Linked DNA regions of Homo sapiens: region 2 is linked to region 1. Evidence: promoter capture Hi-C in 16 types of primary human blood cells and fetal thymus (Javierre and others, 2016). All regions are on one chromosome and are shown on one strand. Each heading gives the region's core, a stretch centred on a gene start or on the middle of the fragment in contact. The rest is flanking DNA. Distances are from core to core; before and after follow the strand shown. Region 1 holds the start of MALINC1 (mitosis associated long intergenic non-coding RNA 1). Region 2 overlaps TMCO6 (transmembrane and coiled-coil domains 6).

Region 1 (6,034 bases), core at 2,650-5,149:
CACCTATGTCCAGTGGTCCCTGAAATGGCTCTCTGAAGGGAAGGCTCCACACCAAGAGATAAAAACCCAGACTTTGGGCCCCATAAAGAACTTCCCCTTATTTGGGAGGCAACCTCTAGTACCCTGTAGTACTCTTTCCGTGTTGATTTTTTCTGCACTCCTTCCCCTGTCCCAAAGTCTATTGAGAAGGGGACACAGGAACTTTTGAAGCACTTTGAACTGCACAGAAATACACGTGTGAAGAAGCAGTAACTCCTCCAGGCTCGAACAGTAGCAATCAGGACTCTGGATAGACCCCAGCGCCTCCAGGGACAAAAAGGCTCAGTAGCAGGCTCTCCACAGAGAATGGAGTGGGACATTATGTTTCACTTGTAAACTGAGGCTAAGATCTGGTACAATCCGATCTAGAAGGGCTGCTGCTCTTCCTCAAGAGTTTACCTTGCGTCAAACCAAGCCCCTGCTCCCTAATGAAAACTCAAGGCAGCAACAAGGCCAATGAGAATACGATGAGGGCCCCACCCACCCCCCCTGCCAGTCCCTGCCTTTCTTCCGTGCTGATTGCTGCCCCCAGGACAGAAGACTAAGACTCGAAACTGCCCCGCCTTCCTATCCCAACTTCCCGCCTTCGTATCCCAACTTCCCGCCTTCCTATCCCGACTTGCAGTCTAAATTTTCTTGCCCTCCGTCCTAGACGTCTATATACAGGGATTCCGAATGATTTGAGTTTGGAAGTGCCCTGTTTTTCTGAAAAAGTGACTGCCACCAAGAACTGACTTCTTAGTTACCCAGCGCAGAGGCAACTGATGAAGTTTCCAGACAGAACACAAGTTGAATCTCATTTGTACACTTAAACTGGGAATTTTAAGGTCAAATCAGCAAATTACTGGGACCTAGATCTCTCCACATAAATATGTACTTGTTTTATGCTATTCATTATATATGTATAAAACTTTTGCCCTTATTTGCCAGCTTCTCTACTTTATATGTGTATCTAAAAAGCAAACAAGATTAACAATGCCTTTCCAAAATAATTCAATGATAAATAGGATTTTTAGCATATTTTCACTACTGAAACGAGAGTTAATTTCAGAATAAGCCTTTAAGTGTGGGCTTTTTCTCAGACTAAGGAGGTGAAAGGCAGCTTTCTTTGGGCTATAGTGTACAGTAGCCTTAAAAGGCAATCTGGGAGAAATGAATATAAACTTCCAGAAGTCTTAAAACAAAAAGTTTAAACTTTAAATAAAACTTCACAGTTATATTTGCATTGTAACACTGAAAAGTCATTAGAAAATAAGTGGATTTTAAGACTTCTAACCATTTGTTAATAATCTAAACAATATACTAACTTGGTGAATGAAGTCTGTTCTAGTATCCAGCTGTTTGAATTTGTTAATGTAAAACAAATAGTTGTAAAACTAAATGTATAATTTCATTAGAATGTAGGAAAGACAAAGGGAAAACGAAATATACAGCAAATTAATATGCAGCAAAAATCCATGTTAATGAAAAACATCAAAAAGTAAACATTTCCTTTCTCCTCACAATATGCTTACAAAGACATAATGTCTCTAGATTTCTTGAGCCCTTTTATTATTAATACAACAGACACATTTTAAAGAGAATAGAGACTGCTTTATTTTTAATCCCACTGTCTCTATGTATTTAACAAACTCTTACCAACAAAAAATTGTGCGCAAAGAAATACACATTAGGCAGAACAAAAAAGAAAAAAGCTTTAATTTTCTTCAGCCTGACTACAGGTGATTCTGAAATAATCTAATTCAGTTTTGGTTTTATAAAGTAAAAATCAACACACATTTATAAAATAGACTTGGAAAGAGGTTGTCTACCTCTGGGTAGTAAACCCTTCTGATTATAGAGTTCCTAATAGAAACAATATGTTGATTAATATTTTACAAAATCACAAATTTCCAAAATAAAGAACATTAGAGCTTGTGTTTTCAAGTGATACTTAGATTAAATACCAGTCTTAAACCAGACAACTATCTTCAATACCCAAATCATTAAAACTAACTGGGATGTTGTACTGTAAATGTTCAAAGTGGAGGAATTAGCCATTTCTTCTCATGACTGTCTACCAAAAAAATTGAGAAACTCTCAAATAAATCTTAACATTTAACAACAACAATGACTAATAGTAACAGCATTTCCCAGATCGTTCTTTAAAAGCGTATTCCTTTTCCATAGCTCACTTAATCTTGAAAATCATGCCTCTTCAATGCTATTTTAATGTTTCGGATTAAAGATATGAAGTAAACATTTAATATATGAAGAGAACAATCCACTTGATAAAAATCCTCGCATTTCCAAAATGTTTTCATTTTAAGCATTTGCAGAAGTTAAATAAATGTAGCAGACATTCTAAATTCGATAAAAAATTCAGAGAACCCGACATTTTATGTACCCCAAAGGTCCAAACAGAACCGATGTAAATGTCAATAGCTGTCTCCCTTCCGGCTGATACTTAAATGGTTTTACTAGTACTCAAAGCAATGAAATCAGCAACTCTCTCTCCACACTCTAGTCAACACTCCAATTTCCAAAGCCGCAATTCGCAAACGTCAGTTGGGCGGGGGCGGTGGGGGATCTTGAAGTAATCCAAAAATTTCCTTTCCCCTTTGACAGTCCACCAAAAGATGTCAAACCAAATCCAGCCTATTGTAAAGCTCTGGGACCTCCCTTCCAAGGACACCGAACACAAGCTTAGACACCGCTGCGAAAAGCTGTCCAAAAGCGCCTGGCCGGACAGAAATGTAAGGAGCCCAGGCCAAAACGAATTAGAACCCCCAACAGAGGGTCCCGCAGACACCGCGGAAAAGAAGGTGGCATTTATTCCGGGGTAGACAGCTACGAACCAGTTACCCCAGCCAGTCTCTGGGGGCTCTCCAACCCAAGTTCAGGTTTATGGCAGATATATTGGTTGGGTGCCTTCCCCTACAAACATCACAGCCCGCCTCCGGGGCCCACCGCCGCTCACAGAGAAGACCCCTCAGCTTCACATCCGTTCCTTTTGCCCTCGGACAAAGGCAGAGGAGCTGTGGAGCTGACCCAGCGCTGTGGGGCAGTAAAAATGCCTTGTTCGGGCCACCCATCTTTGGGCCCGGCTTCATCTGCGATGTCAGCACCAAAGGTTTTTTTTTTTTTTTTCCTGGTTTTGTTTTGTTTTTACAACGCATCCTGGGCGGGTGTATGCATTTGGTGGTAGTGGGGTGGGGGGAACCGAACAGAGGAGGGGTTGGCAGTGAAGCCTGGGTTATAGAACTCTCCTTCCTCTCCCTCCTTCCAGGGTTGCCGTGCAGGGAGTGTCAGCCACGTCTAGCGCACAGTCCCAGGCCCCAGGGCGAAGGCGGCCAGGGGAAATGGGGCTCAGGGATTGCTAAGCAAACGCATCACTGGTGGTCTCCAGCGCCTGCGGAGGTAGGATCGCCTCTTTTCTTAAGGGGCGTGTTATTTTGTTCTCTTTTGAAAGTAGGAGGGGGTTCATTCGTTTCTCGCTGCGGGGGGTGGGAGAGAACGTTGCTGCACCGCCTGGGTCTCCAAGAGGGAGGGTGCGGGGATGTCTGCAATGGTACTATAATTATTCCTGGGCTGAGAGAGCAAGTAAAGGGGACGGGGCGAGCGTCACCTGGAGCTGTGGCAGTGGCAGCAGGGAAGGTCGCGAGGGGCTTACCCGGGCGGGCGGGCGCTGTCCTGCCGCAGGTGAGGGAGGGCGCAGGCTGGCGGGAGGGAGGGCGCGCGCGAGACAGGCGCGAGGAAGGGGGGAGGGGAGGAGGGCGCGCGCGCGCACACCTGTCCTGGACAGCGGCGCTAGCCGAGCTGCGCCTCACTTAGGCTCTGCGGGCTGAGGAGGAAGGAGGGCGGGCTGGCGGGCGGGGGCGGGACGCCGAGGGGAGGAGGAGGAGGCGGCTCGGATGGCTGGCTCGGCTCTCGCTCGCTCTCCCTCCCATGGGCAAGTCCGGCTCACACCCTGCTTCTCCCGCTCACTCACAGCCCCCTTGGCTCTCCCTCCTCCTCCTCCTTCCCCTGCGGGATCCGCTCGCCGCCGCCGCCGCCGCCGCAGACGGCAAGTCGTGGCAGCCAGACGTCGGCGCGTAACCCGGCGCTCCGTGCGTGACTCCAGGCGACGTCAGCGCGCGCTCCGCGTTCCCCACCCCTCCTCCCAACTCCGTGGCTCGCGCCCTTCGCTCTCGCGTCCCTCCGTTTTAGCTGCCGCCGCGGCGGCCGCCGAGCGCGCTCTTTCCGCCCCCTTCTCGCGCGTGAGCGCGCCCTATCGGCTCCTGGCGCGTCAACATTCCGCGGGCCAGGCCTTGGGGCGCGTCTGAGGAGGGGGATGTCTGTGGCCTCTCCGCCCACACTTCCTCCACCCACCGCCCACAGCGCCCCAGAAGGACCTATTACTCGTTTGGCTTCTGAAGGCCGAAGCCAGGCTCTGGCGGGGATAGAACCCTGAAGGGCCTGCGCCAGCTCCAACTTAGGGCCCTGTGCGTCGTTGCGACTTCTGCTACCACCCTATCACGCGGCACCCCCGCCCCAACTCCGCCCGGGTCTCTGAAGAGGCAATAGGCCTTTCATCTCCGGGGAAAGTCTCACCTTGGCCCTCAGACACCCGCCAAGAGGGGTCGGAAGGACAGAATTAGCATAGAGAAGAGTGGCTAGAGCACTTTTCAGGCTCTGGCCCCAGGAATCCTTGACAGGAAGCGTGGGGTTGCTGCCCAGCCTCCCACGCAGTGTAATATGTTGAAGCCGGGCCCCTTTGAGGGAATGCGACTTCCTTGGGCCGAGGGGGAAAGGGTAAAAGTTAATTTTCATAAAATGCTATGCAAGGGCTAAATGTGAAATTATAAAATGTCCTTTAAGACAGTCTTCTTGAAATCGTATCAAGTTTGACAAGATTTTTGGTGCACGGTAACGCTTTTGCTCGCTTTCTACGCTGTCACGTCTCCATCCTGCAACACTGAATACGTAGATGGAACGTGGATCAGCTAATAACTGCAGCAAAATAAAAACTGCATTTATCATCTTTATCATTATTTAAATAGACCTCCGAGAAGTCAAACTGTGATTTAGGAAAACTTAATCATTGCCTCAACCTATTTAACTATTTTGTTTTGAAGTTACTTTGCAAATATACCACAAAATCCCTCTTTGTTAGGCAGTGGTAGACTTTTAAACTCACTTGTTAGAGAATCTTTCCCAGAAGCATATCTAGTTGAGCCTGCGAGGCAAGTAGGACTAAGGTATAATTACTCCCATTTTACAGATGAAAATTTAGTTATCAAAATGTAAGTCAGTTGTTCAGCATTGTGAGGAGTCTATCACTGATAAAGGGAAAACTCTAAGGTCTATTATTGCCTGCTTTATTCACTAAACCAGAAATCTCTCAATTGTTTTTTTCCAAGTATCTTTTGCTGCCTCTTACGTATTGTAGGCAGTGCCTGATGGCTGAGAAGAATCGCAGAGGACTAGAAAAGGTTTGAGTCTGAAATTATCTGGCACAGAGGATTAAAGCTCAGAAATAAGTGATTGCGAAACAGTTCAACTTCCCTGTTAATGACAACAACAACAGCAACACGCTTATTAATTCCTAGCTGGAGGTGAGAAAATGAGACTGGCTTAAGGGTGATGGGTCATTTCCTTTGAATTGCTTCTTTATATTCACCTCATCTTTAGGTGGCAGCACTACTATATAAATATCCTTCGAAGTACAGTCTTCTGCATCTTAATATCCTAAAGGATATTCTGTCCTAAATGTTTCCAACTGTATTGTGGAGATTAGAAACTGGTGATTTAATGATCTAAAATCATAGCTGAGAATTAGAAAACTTGGAGGTTCTAGAGGAGGAAAAACAAAGGCTATCAGACACATTAATAAAATACATGGAGCTACGGAGGGAAAACATTAGAAAGTTTCAAGAAAAAAGTTTTTTAGGTGTATGAGGAGCAAGTAGCATCTCTTTAAACCTTGTCTTTTATTGAAACATAGGACAAGATAACCTTCCAAAGCAAACCATCC
Region 2 (6,034 bases), core at 667-3,166, 540 kb before region 1:
CTAAGACTGGCATGGCAATGTATTGCAAAATGAAATTTTCCTATCATGTTGCCTAACACATTGTAGGTATGCAATAAATGTTTATACATACTGAATAACAGGATTTTAATCACAGCTTTTAACTATATGGTGCCCTGGGAATGACGGGAGGAGGTGGAGGAGAGTGACCACCTTAAGCAGATTGGTTCTCAGAGTAGATATCTGTGAGACACAGTAGACATTAGACATGCACTAATAATTGGAGAAGGAAAAAAGCTTCTCCTTCCAAAAGCCAGTAGACTACAGGAGGAGATAGACACGAGTAACTTTAGTGTATTGTGCTGGGTATTATGTTAGATAGCCTATGGGAGCCTAGAGAATGGGTACCCAGCTGGGTGCGGTGGTTCACGCCTGTAATCCCAGCACTTTGGGAGGCTGAAGCAGGTGGATCACCTGAGGTCAGGAGTTCAAGACCAGCCTGGCCAACATGGTAAAACCCCGTCTCTACTAAACATACAAAAATTAGCCGGGTGTGGTGGCGGGCACCTGTAATCCCAGCTACTCAGGAGGCTGAGGCAGGAGAATTGCTTGAACCCAGGAGGTGGAGGTTGCAGTGAGTGGAGATCGTGCCACCACACTCCAGCCTGGGTGACAGAGCGAGACTCCGTCTCAAAAAAAAAAAAAAAAAAAGAGAGAGAATGGGCTCCCAGCTGAGGCTGGACCCATGCAATACATTGCTCACCGTAGTTAATAATAAATGCCTACAGTGCCCCCGAAAGCTTCCCTGAAACAACCCATTGCGGCCATCCAGAATCAGCCAAAATTCTATTTGGACTTGGGCTTCCTAGATGTGTTTGAGACCTATTGTATTAATTCTAGGCATACCAAATGTATTTTGATCATATCTCTTTAATACTCTTCCTGTCTTAACAAGACTAAGATAAAGACAAAGATCTTTTATTTTACTTTGGTAGCCTCCAGGGTGCAGAATAGTTAAAGACACCTCCCTCTCTCTCTTCAGCATTTGGCCAAGAGACGAATGTCCCTTTGAACAACTTCAGTGCTGATCAGGTAACCAGAGCCCTGGAGAACGTTCTAAGTGGTAAAGCCTGAAGCCTCCACTGAGGATTAAGAGCAACAGCCCCAGAGCCTGGGCTCTGCTGGACTTAGTATAATGTGAAAAAAATGTGTTCTCCTATTCCTCATAAAGCTTGTGCTGTAAAATACTTTCTCAGGGTGTTCTTGTCCTCATCTACCCTCTACCCCTTACTGTGCAACCACTGAGGCAAAGTAGCTTAATATAAAAATAAAACTTTATTCTGTCTCATCAAAAGCTACCAGCTGCTGAAGCAAACATGAAGGGTGGCGGGGGGGCAGGGATTCTAGGGCCCCAGAGTAAGTAGACCACACTGAGTCCCTTTTGGTCCTCCTGCCTGGATAGTGCTGAGTGGAAGGGGAGGAGCTGGGACCCAAAGGTCTTGGCTTAGGTGTGGGAGCAGAGAACATGAGACCTCATTATGGTCCTAAATCTCCAAAGGCTCTACTGGACAAACAAGCTTGATGTTAAGAGAGAGGGGAATGAGTGACATTGAGAAACAAGATCACCCTTGAAGAGCTGTCTGCTGGAGAGCATACACACGATCCTGGAGCTGGGCCTCTTCCTGATGCCTTTCCAGGGCTTGCAGCCCTGACTGCTGCAGGAAGACCTGAACAGCCTAGGGGCAGGGAAGAAAATTCAACACACCTGGTCTCTGTGTCCTAAGACTCAATTCCCACAGCCTCATGGGTCAGCCTACTCCAGAGGGTGCATTCCCCAACAAGAGGATGAAGTTTCTGACATGGAACCTATATAGGTTAGCCAGGCCCAGAGAAACAACTATAGTTAGGACTGGATGGGAAGGGAGCCACTGTGTGGCTTCAGAACAGGGGTGACTGAGGATGTGGGCCAGAAACCTATACCTCTGGCTGATACAGGAACAGCAGATGCAGCAGCTCCAAACTCTGGCCTACTACTTCAGTGTCAGAAAAGGCTAGTGTGTGCAGCAAGGCGGGAAGCAGGGGCCCTGGCCACAGCCGCTGGCAGTAAGCAGGACCCTTTTCTGCAACATTGCACAGAACTGTGAGCACCTGCAGATAGACACATATATAGTCTACAAAGAATGAAACACAAAGATCATAACAATAGCTAAAATATATGACATGGTGACCACATGCCCAGGCACCATGCCAAGCTCTTCTACATACATGTTCTCATACTCCTACAACTACCCTATGATGCAAGATTATCCTCAGTTATAAGTGAGGAGACTGAAGCTTAAGGTGGTTAGTTGATTTGTCCAAGGATAAATAATCCAGTTTAAGGGACACACACCTAGATTGGTTGGGCCCTGAGGCCACACACCACCACCTGCTGGCTCTCAACTAAGGGTACATCTGAGGGCTCAGGACTGCTGTCCCATACAATCCGACTACCAGATCTTGGATTCAAGTAACCCCAATACATACCATTACGCTCACCACGTTAGATACTGGCAACAGCTGTAAGAGAGGCTCAATCAGATCCAGGGAGAGCAAGGAGGTACAGAAACTAGGACTGTTTGCTGGAAGAGAAGTACCAGGGTGAAAAACTGCTTTCCCCCACCACCCCTGTCAATACTACCCACCTCAGCCTAGGCCATGAGGAAATATCCCCATTATCCAAATGTCCAGGCCTGGGCAGATTATGGTGCGTACCAGTGAGGTTGTTGAGGAGCCAAAGGCCCTCAGGGAGCAGACTGGGCTGTTTCTGGAAAAAGAACTGCAGAAGGATAAATAAGGCTGCCACAACACGCTCATCTCTGAGCTGCATTTGCCCTCCCACAGTCTCCACTGCTGCCTCAGTTAGCAGGTTGCTTAGACATCGAAGCACGGGGCATGCCAGCTGCAAAGACAAATTGGGGGGTCAGGTGTAAGAAGGAAGAGGTTACCTGCATTCCAGAGTATCAAGAAACATCTCCCAGAATTTCACCTGACATCTTCACCTACCAGCTCCAGTCCTGCATCCTCGGTTTTCTGGACAGCCCCAGCCAAGTCCAACAGCAGCAACCCCAGAGTAGACAGAGCCCCATGGCCAATGAGCAGAGGATTGCTGACCTGGCTGGGCAACAGGAAGCAAGCAGTCCCTAGGTATATAGTCAATTCCACCTTTAAGAAGAGAAGCAGTTGCCTAGGCGTGGTGGCTTATGCCTGTAATCCCAGCACTTTGGGAGGCTGAGGTGGGTGGATCACCTGAGGTCAGGAGTTTGAGACCAGCCTGGCCAACATGGCGAAACTCCGTCTCTATTAGAAATACAAAAATTAGCCGGGCATAGTGGCACGCATCTGTAGTCTCAGCTACTCAGGAGGCTGAGGCAGGAGAATCGCTTGAACCCGGGAGGCAGAGGTTGCAGTGAGCTGAGATCGCACCACTGTACTCCATCCAGCCTGGGTGACAGAGTGAGACTGTCTCAAAAAAAAAGAGAAACAGCTAAGGTCTGTGGGTCTCCTGGGCTCCAAAAAGAGAAGACAGTGGAGGGAGGAAAACTCACTATAGCAATTCCAGACACAAGTTCAAAGAGTTGAATGTCATGGAAGGGAGCCCCAGGGAAGATCTGTGGTACTTTCCCAATTGCCCTGTTACCTGCAGATGATGTAATGAAGGCACCAGGCAAACTCCACAGCGACCCCAGGGTTGAGCTTTGGGCCAGGTTGCAACATTTGTAGCATGTGCTGAGGGAGAGTGGAGGCCAAGATGGAGCTGCTGGCAGAAGCAGGGCTGTAAGTAGGAACCACGAAGATGCCAGTGGTTCTTACCAAACCCTGATAGCAGGTGGGAGAGTGTCCAAACCCAAAGCCCTGCCCAGATGGGAAAGTGTCCAAACCCAAAGCCCTTCCTAGCCAGACACATGAATTTAAAATGTGCAACAGCTTTGGAAATCATTCAGGCATCCGGGAGCTATACTACTGAGTGGGTCACCTCTGGCTGCACATCTAAAGACAATTTTACTCACGGAATGATCTTCTCTGGAGCTTCCTCAGCCTGTAGAAGCTGGGACAAGGCATATCCGAGAGCTTCCAGCACAGCCACATGGGGGGACTGGAAGTAGACAGGGTAAGGATCTGACTGGAAGCTGGGTCATCAGGTCTTCAGAGACTTTCAGCCCCTTGGCACAGGGCAGAGGCTGGAGCTACCTAACCAAAGTAGATGGAGCATGTGGGGAGGAGCAAAGGAAGGGTTGCCCAGGGAGGAAGAAAGGAGTCACCTGGATGCAGGCAGCCAAGGCTGGAACAATGCCCTGTGGCAGGAGCTGCCTTCTCACAGCCTCACTCTCCACGATCAGGTTACCCAGTGTATACAGACACAGCTCCTGAGAACAGGCAACAAAAGCACTGGGCTTGGCCTGTTTCATGCCAGGCTGCGTGTGGGGAGATGGGGAGGGGAGGTGATGGGGACGCTGGAGCAGCTATCCTTGCGGCTCACAAGAGGGTGGGGAGATGATGGGTGTAGCCATGGCTGTAGGCATAAGGGCAAACATGTTTTCTTCCTCCTACCTGCCAGCTCAAACTGGTCCCAAAAGCACAATTTTAAAATCTAAACCAAGAACAAGATAGGAAGGGACAGGGCTTACTATGAAGTCTGAGCTGTGACTGGAGAGGTAGGTGAGGAGGTAAGAAGTGGCTGGCAGGCAGGCCTCAGCAACAGTGGACTGCTCGGAGTGAGAGAGCTCATGCAGGCACCGAGCCGCCTCAAGCTGCAGCAGGGCCTGGTTGCTGGTCAGGAGCCCGACCAGGGTCCGCATGCTGCCCTCCAGCCTATGTGAGTGAGTACCAGAGCCCTGCTTAGCTTGTGGTCCATCCCTCAGAGCCCCAACTCCTCCCTCCACCACACCATCCACACTGACCGGATGAAGGTTTGCTGTGTTTCAGGGTGCTGCAAGCCTCGACGAAGGCTGACCAGAGCCCCCTCTCTCTCCTTTTCCTCTGTCCCCCGCTGGGCTTGCCGCAGGAACTGCTGCACCTGGAGTTCAGGGCAGGGAAAGGAGAACACACGGTTCACAGAAAGCAAGTCCTAAGTCTCTCTCTGCCCACTTCACCTGTGAGCCTTCCAATATCACACCTTCAGAACTTGTCATTCACACTAATGCAACTAATAAGCATCTACCTTGCAGTGGAGTGGACAGAGAATCAGAACTGAGTTCTAATACCATACCTGCCACTTACTCCATATGGGACCTGAACCTAAGTTTCCTCACCTGAAAATGAGAATAACAATATCTATCCTGCCTTCATACAGGGTTCTTTCAAGGATATTTAAACCTCTCAGCCTGGCAAAACCTACTCCTCTAGCCATTCTCCCCATGCAACCTACACTCTAACAACAACCAGCCTAACATGAGCTTTTTCTTTTTCTTTTTTTTACATTTCCGAGCTTTTGCACATGCTATTTCTTCTGCCTGGATACCCTCTCCAGCTTCCCACTCTCTTCAGGTTTCTGCTCCTCATTTCCTCTGGGAAGTTAGCTCTTTTTGAGAGACTTAGGAGTTTCTCTTGTTCCTCATGTTTCCTTCCCTTGTGACATCTGTCTTCTTCACCGGGCTGTGAGCACCTCAAAGAAAAGGACTCTATCCTTTCATCTTTGTGTACCTCAGTGACCAGCACAGTGTCCTGGCATAAAGTAAGCATACAATGGAATAGTATGACCTAGGAATAAGTTGATAATATATATGTCAACATGGTATGTACGGTAAACTATGTACGTAAACATAATACAAATACAGGGGATACTCAATGCTTACTGAATAAATCCTTTCATTCACTCATTCAATAAACACTGAGTACTTAACTATATGCCAGATAATGTGCAGGCAACCGGGTTTTCAATGACAACACAGGATCTAGGTTTTCCTGCAATTAAAGTCTAGTTGGAGAAATAACAATAGACAAACCATTAGATAATGATTAATATTCTACAAGAAACAAGTAGGTGGCCGGGCACAGTGGCTCACGCCTGTAATCCCAGCACTTTGGGAGGCCAAGG

What was found. Contacts are between HindIII fragments. The CHiCAGO score rates a contact against its expected background, and 5 or more counts as called.
Region 2: a contact is called between a fragment that was not itself captured here and the fragment with the promoter of MALINC1 in region 1, in 1 of 17 cell types (naive CD8 T cells). The highest score is 5.3, in naive CD8 T cells.

Annotation. Positions count from the first base shown.
Region 1 is chr5:140,105,877-140,111,910 of GRCh38, reverse strand. It overlaps MALINC1 (mitosis associated long intergenic non-coding RNA 1), which reads left to right and starts at 3,899. Exons shown (of 4, transcript NR_102741.1): 1 at 3,899-4,502; 2 at 5,421-5,615. LOC124900193 reads left to right here and starts at 2,642. Exons shown (of 4, transcript XM_047417990.1): 1 at 2,642-4,127; 2 at 5,450-5,615. The coding sequence starts at 2,926. The coding sequence ends at 3,852. RefSeq lists enhancers at 3,088-3,589, 4,700-4,799 and silencers at 3,740-3,999, 4,010-4,069, 4,100-4,169. The HindIII fragment of the contact is 3,432 bases long and covers 2,726-6,034 here.
Region 2 is chr5:140,640,645-140,646,678 of GRCh38, reverse strand. It overlaps TMCO6 (transmembrane and coiled-coil domains 6), which reads right to left. Exons shown (of 12, transcript NM_018502.5): 3 at 4,899-5,014; 4 at 4,626-4,809; 5 at 4,260-4,364; 6 at 4,008-4,093; 7 at 3,638-3,754; 8 at 3,004-3,115; 9 at 2,713-2,899; 10 at 2,485-2,579; 11 at 1,939-2,106; 12 at 1,275-1,694. The coding sequence ends at 1,581. NDUFA2 (NADH:ubiquinone oxidoreductase subunit A2) reads left to right here. Exons shown (of 3, transcript NM_002488.5): 3 at 1,001-1,394. The coding sequence ends at 1,092. Among named protein-coding and RNA genes, the nearest start is that of NDUFA2, 4.0 kb to the left of the region's middle. The HindIII fragment of the contact is 757 bases long and covers 1,538-2,294 here.